Regions from separate parts of the Homo sapiens genome. Here all the other regions are linked to region 5. The links are contacts of gene promoters, found by promoter capture Hi-C in blood cells and fetal thymus (Javierre and others, 2016). All regions are on one chromosome and are shown on one strand. Each heading gives the region's core, a stretch centred on a gene start or on the middle of the fragment in contact. The rest is flanking DNA. Distances are from core to core; before and after follow the strand shown. Region 1 overlaps RNF121 (ring finger protein 121). Region 2 holds the start of ANAPC15 (anaphase promoting complex subunit 15). Region 3 overlaps NUMA1 (nuclear mitotic apparatus protein 1). Region 4 has its middle 3.5 kb from the start of FOLR3. Region 5 holds the start of CLPB (ClpB family mitochondrial disaggregase). Region 6 overlaps RNF121 (ring finger protein 121).

The links. The method cuts DNA at HindIII sites, captures the fragments that hold promoters and counts their contacts. A CHiCAGO score of 5 or more calls a contact.
Region 1: a fragment that was not itself captured here is called in contact with the fragment with the promoter of CLPB in region 5 in 2 of 17 cell types (fetal thymus and naive CD8 T cells); the score reaches 6.3 in fetal thymus.
Region 2: a contact is called between the fragment with the promoter of ANAPC15 here and the fragment with the promoter of CLPB in region 5, in 1 of 17 cell types (M0 macrophages). The highest score is 5.1, in M0 macrophages.
Region 3: a contact is called between a fragment that was not itself captured here and the fragment with the promoter of CLPB in region 5, in 1 of 17 cell types (fetal thymus). The highest score is 6.2, in fetal thymus.
Region 4: a contact is called between a fragment that was not itself captured here and the fragment with the promoter of CLPB in region 5, in 1 of 17 cell types (M1 macrophages). The highest score is 6.2, in M1 macrophages.
Region 6: a contact is called between a fragment that was not itself captured here and the fragment with the promoter of CLPB in region 5, in 3 of 17 cell types (M0 macrophages, M1 macrophages and M2 macrophages). The highest score is 8.0, in M0 macrophages.

The regions. Positions count from the first base shown.
Region 1 is chr11:71,971,429-71,974,219 of GRCh38, reverse strand. The region is part of intron 3 of RNF121 (ring finger protein 121); the gene reads right to left. Among named protein-coding and RNA genes, the nearest start is that of IL18BP, 26 kb to the left of the region's middle. The HindIII fragment of the contact is 4,567 bases long and covers 1-2,791 here.
Region 2 is chr11:72,111,445-72,114,144 of GRCh38, reverse strand. ANAPC15 (anaphase promoting complex subunit 15) reads left to right here and starts at 1,450. Exons shown (of 6, transcript NM_014042.3): 1 at 1,450-1,495; 2 at 2,649-2,700. RefSeq lists enhancers at 567-1,104, 1,412-1,471, 1,572-1,631, 1,105-1,642, 1,802-1,971 and 1 more and a silencer at 1,224-1,441. The HindIII fragment of the contact is 5,139 bases long and covers 1-2,700 here.
Region 3 is chr11:72,077,475-72,080,174 of GRCh38, reverse strand. All of the region lies in intron 1 of NUMA1 (nuclear mitotic apparatus protein 1), which reads left to right. Among named protein-coding and RNA genes, the nearest start is that of NUMA1, 1.7 kb to the left of the region's middle. RefSeq lists an enhancer at 1-222. The HindIII fragment of the contact is 196 bases long and covers 1,261-1,456 here.
Region 4 is chr11:72,130,889-72,133,588 of GRCh38, reverse strand. It overlaps the pseudogene RPEP6. Among named protein-coding and RNA genes, the nearest start is that of FOLR3, 3.5 kb to the left of the region's middle. The HindIII fragment of the contact is 889 bases long and covers 816-1,704 here.
Region 5 is chr11:72,433,256-72,436,044 of GRCh38, reverse strand. CLPB (ClpB family mitochondrial disaggregase) reads left to right here and starts at 1,514. Exons shown (of 16, transcript NM_001258392.3): 1 at 1,514-1,973. The coding sequence starts at 1,571. RefSeq lists enhancers at 563-1,369, 1,433-1,892. The HindIII fragment of the contact is 13,854 bases long and covers 1-2,789 here.
Region 6 is chr11:71,991,790-71,994,489 of GRCh38, reverse strand. The region is part of intron 6 of RNF121 (ring finger protein 121); the gene reads right to left. Among named protein-coding and RNA genes, the nearest start is that of IL18BP, 5.8 kb to the left of the region's middle. RefSeq lists an enhancer at 2,694-2,700. The HindIII fragment of the contact is 1,494 bases long and covers 669-2,162 here.

The sequences.
Region 1 (2,791 bases), core at 223-2,722, 460 kb after region 5:
CCTGTAATCCCAGCACTTTGGGAGGCCGAGGAGGGTGGATCACGAGGTCAGGAGATTGAGACCATCTTGGCTAACACGGTGAAACCCCGTCTCTACTAAAAATACAAAAAATTAGCCAGACACGATGGCAGGCACCTGTAGTCCCAGCTACTCAGGAGGCTGAGGCAGGAGAATGGCGTGAACCCGGGAGGCGGAGCTTGCAGTGAGCCGAGATAGCGCCACTGCAGTCTGGCCTGGGTGAAAGAGCAAGACTCCGTCTCAAAAACAAACAAACAAACAAACAAAAAAATACAGGGCTTTTGTTTTTTGTATTTTTCAAAATTTTCTGTTTTAAATTTTATATTTCTTCTTTTAAATTTATTTCTTTGGCCTCTTCCTTGTCAGTAGGGCTTTTGTTTTTTGGGGTTTTTTTGGTTTGTTTTTTTGTTTTTTGAGACAGAGTTTCACTCTTGTCACCCAGGCTAGAGTGCAGTGGCAGGATCTTGACTCACTGCAACCTCCACTGCCCGGGTTCAGGCAATACTCCTGCCTCAGCCTCCACAGTAGCTGGGATTACAGGCACCTGCCACCACATCCGGCTAATTTTTGTATTATTAGTAGAGACGGGGTTTTACCATGTTGGTCAGGCTGGTCTTGAACTCCCAACCTCAGGTGATCTGCCCGCCTCGGCCTCCCAAAGTGCTGGGATTACAGGCATGAGCCACCGCGCCCGGCCTGTTTTTTGTTTTTGAGACAGGGTCTCACTCTGTTGCCCAGGCTGGAGTGCAGTGGCACAATCACAGCCCACTGCAGCCTCAACCTCCCAGGCTCAAGTGATCCTCCCATCTCAACCTCCTAAGTAGCTGGGACTACAGGCCTATGCTACTACAACCAGCTAATTTTTTCTTTTTTAAGAGATTGGGTCTTACTACGTTGCCCAGGCTGGTCTCAAACTCCTGGGCTCAAGCTATCCTTCCACTCCAGTCTCCCAAAATGCTGGAATTACAGGCATGAGCCACTATGCCCAGCCTACATTTCCCTCTTTTTTTTTTTTGAGATGGAGTTTCACTCTTGTTGCCTAGGCTGGAGTGCAAAGGCACAGTCTCGGCTCACCACAACCTCCGCCTCTTGGATTCAAGCGATTCTCCTGCCTCAGCCTTCCGAGTAGCTGGGATTACAGGCATGCACCACCATGTCCGGCTAACAGTGTATTTTTAGTAGAGACAAGGTTTCTCCATGTTGGTCAGGATGGTCTCCAACTCCTGACCTCACGTGATCCGCCTGCCTCGGCCTCCCAAAGTGCTGGGATTATAGGCATGAGCCACCGCACCCAGCCGCCCAGCCTATGTTTCTCTTAATGTGAAGGTTGGGCTTGAGCTCCTAAGTTATGGACAGTAATGTGATACTTCTCAGTGGGCTGGCATACTGCTCATCATCAGTCTCATAGCTTGCAATATCCATGTTGCTCTAGGTCCTAGAGCCTAGGACAGTGTTTCTCATCAGGGATGATTTTGTTTCCCAGGGGACATTTGGCAGTCTGGAGACATCTGGTTGTTACAAGTGCAGAAGGGTGCCAGTATCATCTAGTGGACAGAGGGTAGGGATGCTATTAAACATCCTATAATATACAGGACAGCCCCCGAGAAAAAAAGAATTATATGGCCCAAAATGCCAACAGTTCCTCTGTTGAGAAACCTTGGTCTAGGAGAACAGAGCTAGTGTTTTTCCACTCAGTGGTCATTGGATGCCCACTAAAAGGCTGCGCCACCAACCTGCACTAGTGAAGGACAAAAAGTTTCATTCAGTTTGAAAGAAACAGAGCCTTATCAAATAATTCCATCATTTCTTGGAATGCCATAAGAGGCATTTTTTTAAAAGCTCTAATGGCTAATCTCAAACAGTTCATGTTTCTACTACTCAACAACAATCCCAGTGCCTTTCCTTTACACAACATTCTCCGGGGAGTCTTCCTGATTCTCTTTTATTACTATTCCTCACCCCAGACATTCTAATGTGCTTCACATGTATATTTTTGTTTGTACCTGTTCATGCAAACTGTTTATTGCTTTCTCTGCTTGTATTTTTATTAATTGGCATTGTGTTACACATCTTTCTGTTTCTTAGTTTTTCCACTCAGTACTATGCTTTTAAGGTCCTCCCAAGTTCCTACAGGTACTTAATGTATTGCTTTTAACTGTAAAACAATTTCATGATATGCATCCGTCACATTTTACCTATTTACTCCCTCAGAGATAGATATCCAGATTGCCTCCAACTCCTCAATGTTCAGCCATAATTAACACTTCAGTGAACACCCTCTTACATATCCCCTTAGGATGTGTCACAGGGTATGTGTATATTCGCTGACTCAGCAATGCCATGCTGCTATCCACAATGCCTGTACCATACCCACAAAAAAGTACAAGAAAGCTCCTACAGCCTTTGATCCTTGCCAACACTTGGCACTATTCAGCTTTCTAGCTTTTGCCAACCTAATAGATGTAAAGTGATATCTCATATTTTTATGTGCATTTCTCTAATTACTAATGACTCTGAGCATCTCTTTTCATGCTTAATGGCCTTTTGGGTTTCCTTTCCTGTAAATGTGTTCATATCTCTGGCCTGTTTTTCTATTGGAGTTGCTGTCTTTTGTTGATTTGTAGGAGTTTCTCTGGATAAATATTAATCTACTGTCAGTTTTAATCATTACTCATCTATTCTCCATTCAGTTTCAGTTAACTCTGCCTATCATATCTTTAACAGAACAGAAATCCTTAATTTATAAAATCAAATTTATCGAATCTTTCTTACT
Region 2 (2,700 bases), core at 201-2,700, 320 kb after region 5:
GTCACCTTCCCAGTGACTTTGGCCCCCCAGTCTGAAATAAAACACCTCCCCTGCAAATATTTTATTCCCACTTCTCAGATTTATTTTTTCTCTTATTTACTGCAATCTTACAACTACATATTTTATTTATCTATCTTCTTTATTGTTTACCTCTCTCAGAATGAAGGCTGCATGAAAAGAGGGACTTTTTTGGTCTGTTTTGTTTACTATTGTATACCCACTACTAAGAATAGTGATGGACATATACTAAGGCACTCAGTAGGTATTTGTTGAATGAATGAAAAAGGTAGTCATTTCCAAGAGGCAAAGTTTACTCTTTAATGAAAAACTATAACAAACAGTGCTATTTGGCAATATAATCACATTCAATATGCACAGTACACGACCTCTTGAACAATTCTTATCCAATCTTCACATCAGCCCAGGATAGAAGGAAGGCTGGGCAGAGATTATGATGCTGGTTGACAAAGAAGCTGAGTCCAGAGAGAGGAAAAGGAATTGCCAAAACTCACACATCTGGCCAGGACAGTACTGGAAATGCGGATAACTGCTGTCCCTGAAAGAGGCTGGTAAGTGATGGAGTTTAATAGGAATTGGGTTTGAAGGACCTCTGTTGCCAGAAAGCATGAGTATCTCTAAAGGCGAAGCTGAGTCAGAGGTTACTAGAACAGAGGCATCAGCAAAGGATGGGAGAGGTGACGAGGGCGATCTCTAAGTGTACTTGGCCCAGGCCTGAGGAGGGCAGCTGATTCCCCCAGCAACAGAATGCTGTGCCTGAGGCTAACTAGTCATTCAAGTCTGTACATAATCTCCAATGTCAAAACTCAACAAGCAACCTTAAGAGAGACCACTAAGTCTACTGCATGTCTGCAGGGTTTGGCTTCCCTGGACTGTGAGGTCTTCCAGGGAAGCGACCATATTCCTAGATTTATCCCCAGTTTCTAGCAAGGCCTGGAATATAGTAATATTGTAACTCTAATATTTTTGTTCAGAGCAAAAATAAAAAAGAATGAATATGCTCAAACGGGAAACTGTAGCTGAGAGAGCACAGATAGGAGGGGCCTAACATCAACCAGCAATTCTGAAGTAGTAACAGATTAGTTTTCTGGGATGCAGCAGGACGAATGGCCCTCGCACTAAAAGGTTGCTGTCAGCTCTTCTTCAGAAGGGGTTAACAAGCAAATGGTGACTGGCAACAAAAGGGCAGGGGTTAAACGGGGCAGTGGTTAAACGAGACCGTAGTGCTGGCGCCAGGATGGAGACGCCGACTGGCTGAGACTCAAGGCGGGGCAGATAGGTAGGCGCGGCACACTTCCTTCCCTAACAATGTGACTAAGGTAGGTCAACGTCACATCCGGTTTAGTGGGCGGGAGCGGGGAAAACAAAAGGAGACGAAGGACGCATGCGTTTGGTGAGTCCCGGATTCTGGTGGGTTCTTCCGCTCAGGCTGGGTGAAGCGCTTCCGGGTCGCCGCCGGCAGCAGCCTCCCGGCGCGGTAAGTACAGACGCAAGGCTGCAACCGTCTCCTTGCCCCTTCATTCCTTTTTCCCCCAGAGAAACCCATTTCCTTTGACCCGACTCCCCAGGAGCTCCATATTGAGAGTCCTTAACCCTTAAAGAGCTCCAGCTCATTGGCCGCTTCCTCGAGACTAAGCCCCACCCCGTCACACAAGGTCCGTCATTCATTGGTGTCACTTCCTGTCACCCAGCATTTCTTTCAGTTAATTGGTCCTACCCAGGCCCCGCTTTTTTCGCGTTTAGCAACCCTATAAGGCCAAATTTCTGTCTGAGACCCGCCCTGCTTTCTTTCTGTTGGTCAACTGCATGGTCATTATCGTAATGAGCAAAGAAAGGGCGGTGGCTTTGCGACGGTGGGTTGGGCTTTCGGAGCCGAGATCGCTGGTCTGTCAGTACTTCTTGGACATGAGGGTGTTTACCGTCGTGCCTAATTACGCGGGTTGGGAATCTGAGATACAGGGAAGGGCAGCGGCTGGCCCTGGGTCGGTCAGATAAATTAAGACAAAAGCAGGACCAGGCATCGATTATTTTCTCCTGCTCATCCCTTTCACGGAGGAATTCTAAGCCCCGACACACTGTATGACCTAAAGCCAGTCTCTGCCTGTCGCTGGGCCTCAGTTCGCCTGTCCTAAGTTTAATTCAGATTATCTGGCACTCCTGGTCGGCTCCCTCAGCCGCTCAAAGCTGATTGTACCCTTATAATGTTAGTTCATCCATTCAATCTTCCATCTACTTATTTATCCACTTATTCATGCCTCCTAGAATGTCTTACTGAACCCTGCTTGCATATGCTACAATCCCTCCACCCCGACATTTGGCTGTGATTCATGAGAGGTCGTTAGTGTCCTAAATTTCTGACACTGGGTGGGTGTGGTATGGGCCATCATAAAGGGTCAAAAAGCAGGTTTTAGTGTGTGGAGGAGGTAGGGATAGTTTCAGTAGAACCCTGCTACCTCTAATTTTGTATAATTTCATAATGCCAGTCTGCATTCTGGATTCCTATCCCTACACTTGACTCCCATTCTCATCCCTCCTTGAACAGCCTGCAAACAGCTTTGTTGATCCATTATTTACTTAATTATCAGAATAACTTTGACAGTGGTATAATTGTTATTATCCCCATTTTACAGATGAAGACACTGAGGCTCAGAGAGGTTAAGTGACTCAGCCAAGGTCAAACAG
Region 3 (2,700 bases), core at 109-2,608, 360 kb after region 5:
GCTTGTAAGCGAGGGGTCGGGTCCTGGAAAGTCTTTGCCTTTTATCGTTAACAATAGCAGTAGTTATGGTAGTGCAGTAGTCAGCATTTTCTGAGCTACACCGTCCACAATGACCTGCCAAATGTTTATCTTTTTAATCTTCTAACCACCTGTTATACTTTAAAGATGGGGAGCCTGAGGTTTATAATGTTTAGCTTGGCCCGGGTTACGTAGCCAGTGCGAGGTTGGCTCTACTTTGGGTTTATGGGTTGGGCATAAATGGGGACGGGGAAGGTGCTTTGTGGGGGCGCGCGTTGTCTTGGACTGGTCAGTGTATTTTGAGCCTCACTTTTCATATATGTAAACAATGACCTTACCTGCCTTACCTACTTCCTGGGGTGGTTGTCCTGGTCAAAACAGGTTAAGTCTTTTTTTTTTTTTTTTTTAATTTTTGTTTGTTTTTGTTTTTCATCCATGGACTCTCACAGATAACATGTTTCATACACGCACCTCGGAGAGTACAAATTTATGACTATAAGTGGTGTGACTGTGTGAAGATTGTGGGTGGGCGGGAGCCCACTGGGTTGATGCTGCCGCCTCTGGGTACTCTCTTTTGCTTACCTCTGAGTTAGCACTTGTCATTTTTTTTTTTTTTTGAGACGGAGTCTCGCCCTATCGCCCAGGCCGGAGTGCAGTGGCGCGATCTCGGCTCACTGCAACCTCTGCCACCCGGGTTCAAACAGTTCCCTGCCTCAGCCTCCCGAGTAGCTGGGATTACAGGCGCCCGCTACCACACCCGGCTAACTTTTGTATTTTTAGTAGACACAGGGTTTCACCATCTTGGCCAGGCCGGTCTTGAACTCTTGACCTCGTGATCCGCCCGCCTCGGCTTCCCAAAGTGCTTGGGATTACAGGCGTGAGCCATCACGCCCGGCCTGCCATCTGGTATTTTAAAAGTCTGCGTGTTTGTCTGCCCTTCTAGATAACGAGAGACTTTTTCGTCACTGTATCCTAATGGCTAGGCAGGATTTGCGACATGTAATGGGAATAAATGTATGCTTTGGAATAATTTCTTGGGCTGAAAGGGCACAGGAATTTCGCTTTCCCGTTTTCATTTAGTGGCATTTGAACCTCAGTATTAAGCTGTCCTCTTTACTGGAATGGCACTCCCTCTTGAAAACGTGATGATATTTTCTTGCTTTAATACATAATTCCCTCTCTCTAGTATCTGTTGCCTGGTTCTATGTTTCCAAACTTCTGGGTTGTCTGGTCGTTAAAGCTTTAATGGTAAGGGAGTTGGGCCTCTCTGCTTTGTGGAGATCTTTACTGCTGTGAATATATGGGAACCTGGGGCGAACATGAGGATCATGTAAGGTAGCTTTCTGTCAGCACAGATGGGTTTATGTTTCCTCAGTCCCTCTTTCTGTGTGGTATTTTCTTCTTTAGAGGAAGAACCACATACTTTTTTGTGAAAGCTTCCAAAGTATTCTTTTCGTAGCCTAAGTTCTAGCAAGGGATGACTAATTGTAATGTCTAAGCTCTTAGTTCACAGCGAAAAGCGGTACATTCCAAAAGCTTAAAGATCTTACCTGAAAGCTCGTTAAGAAACGTAGAATTCTTTTTTACATGTGGAACATGGAAGTGGGAAGAATGCCTTGAAATAAGACTTGAATTCTAGAACTTTTAGGATGAGGGCAAAGCCCTGCTCAGGTGGCTGAACAGAGCTGATCAGGGGCTGTTTGGACAGCTGTGTCTAATTGATAAAACTATGATCAGAAGATATTAGGTTTGTGCAAAAGTAATTGCAGTTATTGCCATTGAAAGTAATGGCAAAAACCACAGTTACTTTTGCATTAACCTAATATATGGTGTGGTCATTTAATTTAGCCTCTTACCCAGTGTACACTAAACATACCAAAAGGTGTTGTCCAGACTCAAAATGAGTACTTTCTAGAATGAGATCATTCCCAAAGTCAATCCATCTCTAAGCTGAACAATTCTAATTGATAATTATTATTTTGTAGCTGGGCATGGTGGCTTGCCCTGTCATCCCAACTACTCTGGAGGCTGAGGCAGGAGGAGCAGGCGGGAGAATGGCTTGAGCCCAGGAGTTCTTAGCTAGCCTGGGCAACAGAGTGAGACCCCAACACAATTAAAATATGTTTATTGTTTTGTATTGTTAGTGATTATTTCATTTTACCCATGTATGTCTACTGTTTGCTTTTTCACTATTTTTCCTTGCATTTTATTCCTTCCTTTTTTATTGCATAGATACATACATCCTTCAGATGTTTGTCCAGTGGGAATCTGTTAGTGGTAAACACTGTCTTCATTTAAAAAATCTTTATTTCACTTTCAGTTTTTTGTTTTTTTTTTTTTTTTGAGATGGAGTCTCACTCTGTTGCCCAGGCTGGAGTGCAGTGGCACAGTCTCGGCTCACTGCAAGCTCCGCCTCCCAGGTTCACACCATTCTCCTGCCTCAGCCTCCCGAGTAGCTGGGACTACAGGCGCCCGCAACCACGCCTGGCTAATTTTTTGTATTTTTAGTAGAGACAGGGTTTCATTGTGTTAGCCATGATGGTCTCGATCCCCTGACCTTGTGATCCTCCCGCCTCGGCCTCTCAGAGTGCTGGGATTATAGGCATGAGCCACTGTGCCCAGCTCACTTTCAGTCTTGATTGGTAGTTTAGCTGGGTACTAGGCTTCCAATTATTGTCTCTT
Region 4 (2,700 bases), core at 11-2,510, 300 kb after region 5:
GAAGAAGAAGAAGAAGAAGAAGGAGAAGAAGAAGAAGAAGAAATAAGGAAACAAAGAAAGTTAGGAAAGAGAACTTCATGTTTTCAAGTTAAAAGTGCCTAATGCTTGGTTTGTATTTCTCCAACACTCTTGGAGGCAGTAGAACTGCTACTAACCTGGGAAGACGACCGGCACTGCCCCTGTGTATTGCTTATGTAGTGTGAAGTGATGTTTTCCCATTATGATGTTGGGAACATTTCCAATACTGTCATCATTTACTCAGCTAGTAGAGAGCCTCTCCTGAGGCAGAGCCTGTGTTTTCAGTCTGACCTCAGTATCTGGTCCTGCTACAGGTGAGTCTGAGGTGACAAGACCAGTGTCTAGTTATGAAGCCCTTGCCTCCCCAGGGCTCCATTATGGATGAGTCCTGCACCATAGTCAGCAGCCCTCTGCCCTCCCTCCATTGCACCCACCTATGACTCTTCTCTTCTTTTCAATGCCCTCCCCCAACAACCTCTGCCTGTGACTTTGAATGTGTTGTGGGGGTCTTTGCAGAAGAATCGCCCACCTGAGTTTTGGCCAAATTCCTGACTCACAACATCTTGGAATATAATAAAATAGTTACTATTTCAAGCAACTATGTGTATTTGATTTTTAAACTTTTTGTTTTGAAATAATTTTAGATTTGCAGAAAAACTGCAAAACATCGTCAAAAGATTTCCCGTATGTTTTTATGCAACTTCCCCAAATATTGGCATCTTATGTAACCAAAGCCCAGTTCTTAAAAAAATCAGGAAATTAATATTGAGGCAATACTGTTAACTAATCTACAAGCTTTATGCCCTTTACACCAGTTTCCCCCCCAATGTCCTTTCTCTGGCCCAGGATTCAGTCCATGATTCCAGGTTGCATGTAGTTGTCATGTCCCCTTAGTCTCCCTCCAATCTGTGACAGTTCCTCAATGTCTTTGTCTTTTATGACCTTGACACTTTTGGAGAATTACTGTTCAGTTATTTTGCAGAATGTCCCTCAATTTGGGTTTGTCTATATTTTCCTGTAATTAGCTTGAGCTTATGCATTTTGGCAAGAAAATTAGAGAAGAGAGGTGCTTTTGTCAGTGCATCATATCAAGAGGTACATGATGAGGGTTGCTGCATCTTATTGCTGGTGATTATTGGGTTAAGGAGATTTCCTTACTATATAATTATTAGTTTCCCTTTGTTAGTAATCCTACCTTGTAGGGAGACACTCTGAGACTATGTGAATATCCTTTTCATCCACTTAGTTTAACATTGTCTGCAGCAATACACCACAAAATTATGGAATGATTTGTTATGCAGCAACAGACAACTAGTAAACCCATGAGAGTTAGTATTGTGTTTCTTAAACTCTGAGGAAACAATTTGGCTTATAACCTTAGTTTAGCCACACAGCAGTTACTCTTTCTACAACAAAATTCCCAGGAAAAACAGAGTACTTATCATATTAATCTTTAAATTAAATCACTTATAAAAGTGAGTAGTTATAATAGTCAAACTTACTTTACCCTCTGTGAACATTCTGCATGATGGATTTGAGACAGTGGACTGAATAATTGCTCAGGAAATCAGCACTACCTCAGTTACTTTCTGATGGGTCCTCATAGTACAATAAACAGGAGATTTCATAGACAGAAATACGGGCTCTTCAAGGCTTCTTCAATCATGAGAATGTTTCTGAGAAGCTTCTGAGCAAATACTTCTATGGAAGCTGATCACAGATCTGAGGTCTTTGCACTTCATAATTATTCTGTCAATCACAGTCATATTAATTCCTCCTCTGCACATGTATCAATAGCATTACGCCCACAGGGTCCAAAAAGAAAGAGGTATGTCCTCAACCAACGAATTTCTGATATTACAGGCTTCATAAAATTCATGCCCTCCAATCCCAGGCTCCACTATCGTGGCCAAGGCCAGGTCTGGCTGAGTTGCCAATGGTGCTAAAGACTCTACTAAAGATTCAGGTGAATGCCAAGGCCAGCCTTCATCCAAGTGACCAGAATATCTTTAATGAATGTCTGGTTTTCAGTAGCCTCTAGATAAAAGGCACACTGATTTGCTACACCTACAACTATAGCCGTTGCCTTTTTGCTCGTTGTTTTGACCTGAAACTTAATCATGGGCGTGGCCTCTCTTTAAGGCTTTCTATCTCAGGTACCAAAGATGATGGCAAGAACAAAGTGTCTGTCCACTACATCAAAGATCAGATGGTTATCCGAGTCCAGCATCTAGGTGCACTGAGCCCCAGGGAGTCCAGGCAACTGTTGAGGGTAGATGGGCCAATCTTTATTTTACCTTATTTTTTATTTTTAGGAGACAGGGTCTCACTCTGTCACCCCAGCTGGAGTGCAGTGGCACCATCATGGCTCACTGCAGCCTCAACCTCCCTGAGTATCTGGGACTACAGGCACGCACCACCACGCCCAGCTAATTTTTGTATTTTTGTAGAGAGGAGGTTTCGCCATGTTGCCCAGGCTGGTCTTCAACTCTTGGGCTCAAACAATCCTCCAACCTAGGCCTCCCAAAATACTGGGACTACAGGGGTGAGCCACCACGCCCGGCCAAGATGGGCCAATCATGAGTCTTGCCCAAATTCTTGGGCAAAATCTCACAAAATCTTGAAGTATAATTAAACTCACAAAATCTTGAAGTATAAGTAAATAAGTATTGTGTTTTTGTT
Region 5 (2,789 bases), core at 265-2,764:
TAGTGGAGAAAGACAATAAAAATGTAGTATGTCAGATGGTGATAAATGCTGTGAAGGAAAATTAGGATGGGGTGCGTAGGATTACTATTTTAACCAGAATGGTCAGGGAAGACTCTGATCATGTGAAGTCTGAGCAGACGTACAAGACTTGGAAGAAACAGAACTGGCACAAAGAAGAACTTCCTCCTTTGCCTACCTATGGGTTCAGTTTGGAAAAGAGGGGGCGGGATGGGAGTGCAGGTGTTAATGGAAACTATATGCTCAAAATCAGAAGACCTGAGCATTACTTTACTCCAGGTGATTTACTGGCAAATCTTTTCACCTTTGAGCCTCAATTCCCTTCACTGTAGACGGGAATAACAGTTCTTGCCCAGCTTCTCACACACAGCTGCCATGAGGATCAGATGAGATGACCCACTTGAAAGCCCTTTAAAAATAACACAATCAGGGCCAGGCGCAGTGGCTCACGCCAGTAATCCCAGTACTTAGGGAGGCTGAGGCAGGTGGGTCGCTTGAGGTCAGGAGTTGGAGACCAGCCTGGCCAACATGGTGAAACCCCGTCTCTACTACTAAAAATACAAAAATTAGCCAAGCGTGGTGGTGCGTGCCTGTAATCCCAGCTACTCGGTAGGCTGAGGTGGGAGAATCGCTTGGACCAGGGAGACGGAGGTTGCAGTGAGCCGAGATGGCGCCACTGCACTCCAGTTTGGGCGGCAGAGTGAGATTCTGTCTCAAAAAAAAAAAAAAAAAAAAGACCGGAAGTCAACTCTTCAAATAAAATGTATTCCTATCTCAGGTGCAGTAGTTACCCTAAACATCTTTTTGAAAGGCCGCCCAGGCTGAAAAAAGAGATAGGCTAAACTAAATAAGCATAAGTTTCATAATATGCCTCTGCTGAAGATTCTTGGGTAATTTACACCAGTCAAAAATTGTGGGCCGGGCGCGGTGGCTCACGCTTGTAACCCCAGCATTTTGGGAGGCCGAGGCGGGCGGATCGCCTGAGGTCAGGAGTTAGAGACCAGCCTGGCCAACGTGGTGAAACCCCGTTTCCACTAAAAATACAAAAATTAGCTGGGCATGGTGGCGGGCGCCTGTAATCCCAGCTACTCGGGAGACTGAGGTAGGAGAATTGCTTGAACACAGGAGACGAAGGTTGCAGTGAGCCGAGATCGCGCCACGGCACTCCGGCCTGTGAGACAGAGCGAGACTCCGTCTCAAAAAAAAAAAAAAAAAAAAAGTGTGTCGTGTGCTTCAACTAAACTAGGAAAGAAGTCTTGGGATTCTAATCTTTAACTCTAATCGCCACGCCCCTTCACCCGAACTCTATTTCCCAATATGCCCCGGGCTTCTATAATCCCGCAGTCATTGTGACGCAATCCCACAGCCTTCTGGGAAACGTAGTTTATTTATTCTCCAGCTGGGGAAAGGCTTAGGGCTGTGGACTACCTCTCCCGTGAGGTAGTGCGCAACTCCACCCTGTTCGCGGCGTCTTCGAACGCGCCGCGGCAGCCATGTTGGACGTGGTCAGCACAGGGGCCGGCACCACGGGGTTATCGAAGCAGCTGTCAAGATGCTGGGGTCCCTGGTGTTGAGGAGAAAAGCACTGGCGCCACGGCTACTCCTCCGGCTGCTCAGGTCCCCAACGCTCCGGGGCCATGGAGGTGCTTCCGGCCGGAATGTGACTACTGGGAGTCTCGGGGAGCCGCAGTGGCTGAGGGTAGCCACCGGGGGGCGCCCTGGAACATCGCCGGCCTTGTTCTCCGGACGTGGGGCAGCCACCGGGGGGCGCCAGGGAGGACGCTTCGATACCAAATGCCTCGCGGCTGCCACTTGGGGACGCCTTCCTGGTCCCGAAGAAACACTCCCAGGACAGGACAGCTGGAACGGGGTCCCCAGCAGGGCCGGACTGGGCATGTGCGCCCTGGCCGCAGCGCTGGTGGTTCATTGCTACAGCAAGAGTCCGTCCAACAAGGGTGATTATGAGATCTGGGTTTGAGGAAGGGAGAGGCGGGAAGATTGTCCTAACTTCGTATCTTAGGAGGGTGGGAGGTACTTATAGGTTTAGATCCTTAGAGCCTAAGTCTTGGAGGGACTCAGACATCATCTGGTTACAGGGGCAGGGTGTTGCCCTAGAGACCTCATCACCTCGGAGTTGTATAATCTCGTACCATAGATCCGCTTCCCCTCTCTGGGCATCATTTTATCCATCTGTACAATGGGGATATTGGACTAAACATCTAATATTATAGCATGGTCCCCTTATGTTTCTCATATTCTGCCTGGTCCAATTCCTCTTTCCTGAGATCTCCAGGAAACGGAAATTATGGGGTGTTTTAAGGGCAACCGCCAGATGGTTTAGAGAAGTTGCCAAACCGCTCCCCCCTACCCCCCGCCACCAAAGGTGCCAGAGTCAGGAACAACCTGACTCGGTTCTAATGCCAGCTTGACCTCAATTTATTTATTTATTTATTTATTTATTTATTTATTTATTTATTTATTTATTTCTGAGATGGAGTCTTGCTCTGTCGCCAAGCTGGAGTGCAGTGGCGCAATCTCGGCCCACTGCAACCTCCGCCTCCCGGGTTCAAGCTATTCTCCTGCCTTAGCCTCCCAAGTAGCTGGGACTACAGGTGCGGGCCACCACACCCAGCTAATTTTTGTATTTTTAGTTGTTGGTCAGGATGGTCTCGATCTCTTGACCTCCTGATCCACCCGCCTTGGCCTCCCAAAGTACTGGGATTACAGGCGTGAGCCACCGCGTCTGACCAATTTCTTTATTTATATAGTGA
Region 6 (2,700 bases), core at 166-2,665, 440 kb after region 5:
CAGTTGGGAAGTTAGATGTAACAGAACCTATAAACTGGGCTGGATCAGCACCAAAGGATAAGGGGAAGGGGAGGGAGAAGGACTTGGGGCTGGTGATCAAAAGCTGTGTCAGGCAAGCCATTCTGTCGCCAGACTATGGTTCCACCAGAAATGGACAACAATATTCTCCAACATTTAAAACAGTGAAATATTAAGTGCCATGTTGGTTTGGTGACAAGGGCATTCTCAGACATTTGTGGCAGCAGCAAAAGGGGTTCAAGCCTTTCAGATAGGATTTAGCATGGTATCTCAAATTGTTGCACCTTTTGACCCATTAATTTCACTTCAAGGAATTTAAAGAAATAAGAGGAGGCTGGGCGCGGTGGCTGACGCCTGTAACCCCAGCACTTTGGGAGGCCAAGGAGGGCGGATCACGAGGTCAGGAGATCGAGAGCATCCTAACTAACACAGTGAAACCCCGTCTCTACTAAAAATACAAAAAATTAGCCAGGCATGGTGGGGGGCGCCTGTAGTCCCAGCTACTCAGGAGGCTGAGGCAGGAGAATGGCGTGAACCCGGGAGGCAGAGCTTGCAGTGAGCCGAGATCGCACCACTGCACTCCAGCCTGGGCAACAGACCGAGACTCCATCTCAAAAAAAAAAAAAAAAAGAGGAAGTGTCAAAGAAGCTTCATGAATACAGATATTCACTTAAGCATTATCATAATTAAGAAAGCAAAGAGTTTGGCATGTCCTCAAAAAGTTAAACATAAAATTACCAAATGACCAAGCAATTCCATTCTCGGTATAAACCCAAAAGATATGAAACTAGGGACTAAACACACTTAAACGCCAGTGCTCACAGCGTTACTCACAGTAGCCAAAAAGTGGAAACAACTCAAGTGCCTATCCACAGATGAATGAATAAACCAAATGCGGTGTCACACACAATGGAATACTATTCAGCCATATAAAGGAATGATACATTCTATACATGGATGAACTCTGAAAACACTACGCTAAGTGAAAAAAGCCAAAGGGACAAATATTGTATGATTCCATTTACATGAAATATCTACAATAGGCATGTTCACAGAGATGGAAAGTATATTAGAGGTAAACCAGGGCTGTGGGAAGGGGTAATGAGTTACTGCTTAATGGGCAGAGTTTCTGTTTGGGATGAAGAAAAATTTTGGAATTAGACAGTGAAAATGTTGCAGAACACTGCAAATGTAATTAATGCATGAATTGTATACTTCAAAATGGTCAAAATGGTGACATGGTCTAGAAATCTCTTCTGGGGAGTAAACTGGTTAAAGGAAGATCCAATGTCTACACAAATAGGTAAGAGGGAAATGAAGGTAAAGCACAAGACAGTTGTTCAAAAAGGAACCTAATAAACTGTCAATAAAGTGATCCAATGTACTGTTTTCAATTTGATCCAGTAGAGAAAAAATTAGAATATTCCCATGATACTGAGGGACAAAGTCCCTGGCCTTAAACGGTACTAGATTAAAGTTACCCAAGGTGATGGAAATATTCCTTCTTGGGGTGGGGTCTTGGGGGATGACACTGAGACAGGGAGCACTTCTGTGTTGTTTAAATAATTACAAAGAGAACATACTACTTTTATAAACAGCAAAACAATAAAGATATATTTCCATTCTGAAAAAAAAAATAGAAATATTTACTTGCGTTTCTCAGATTGGCTGTTAATTTACCCATATTTAAGCATCTCTCCGTGATGTCCACCTGCTGCTCTTGCAGCATTTCCTATCTCAGTGAAAGGTACTACCATCCAAGCAGTTGCCGAATCAGAAATCTCAGCTTTGAAACCTATATTTCCTTTGTATTTTTCCCTTCAGTCTTCAGAACCAAACTATATCTAAGTCCAAAATACTTCTCAAATACAGTATGTCCTCACTTCACTGACAGTTTCTTGGAAACTGTGACTTTAAATGAAACGACATATAACAAAACCAATTTTACCACAGGCTAATTGATAGAAACAAGAGTTCAGTTCCTGTGTCATATTTCTGTCACAAAGACATCACTAAACCTCTATTTAAGAGACACCAAATTGTCTCTTAAGTAAAGACTCAAAACACTTTTAATATTAAATGTTGAAATGAAATGTGTAGCTTTACACATACAGTTAAAGATTAACAAAGCAAGTATGAAAGCTTCCCCAATTTTTGGTAAAGCAGTAAGTGACAGTGGCTGTTGTTGTAGCGGCTGTGGGTTAAATCAAGGAATAAGAGTTCACAAAGTAAAAATTGTAAGGAGCAACTCCTACCACTGTGCAGTTCAAAAACAATTACCAATATGGACTAAGCACTTTTGTGCCCCATCATTTATTGTTGTGCCTTTGCATGATTATTATACATTTTGTGAATTTTTACTTATTTAGAGACAACGTCTTGCTCTGTTGCCCAGGCTGGAGTTTGGTGGCATGAACAAGCTCACTGCAAGGCTCAAGTGACTTCCCACCTTGGTCTCCAAAGTAGCTGGGACTACAGGCATGTGCCACCACGCCCGGCTAGGTTTTTTTTTTTTTTGTCTCATTTTTTTGTAGAGATGGGGTCTCACTATGGTGCTCAGGCTGGTCTTGAACTCCTGGGCTCAAGCAATCTGCCTGCCTCAGCCTCCCAAAGTGAGCCACTGTGCCCGGCCCCTCCCAGGATTTTTAGCATAAAAATCAAAATCTTTAATTTGGCCCACAG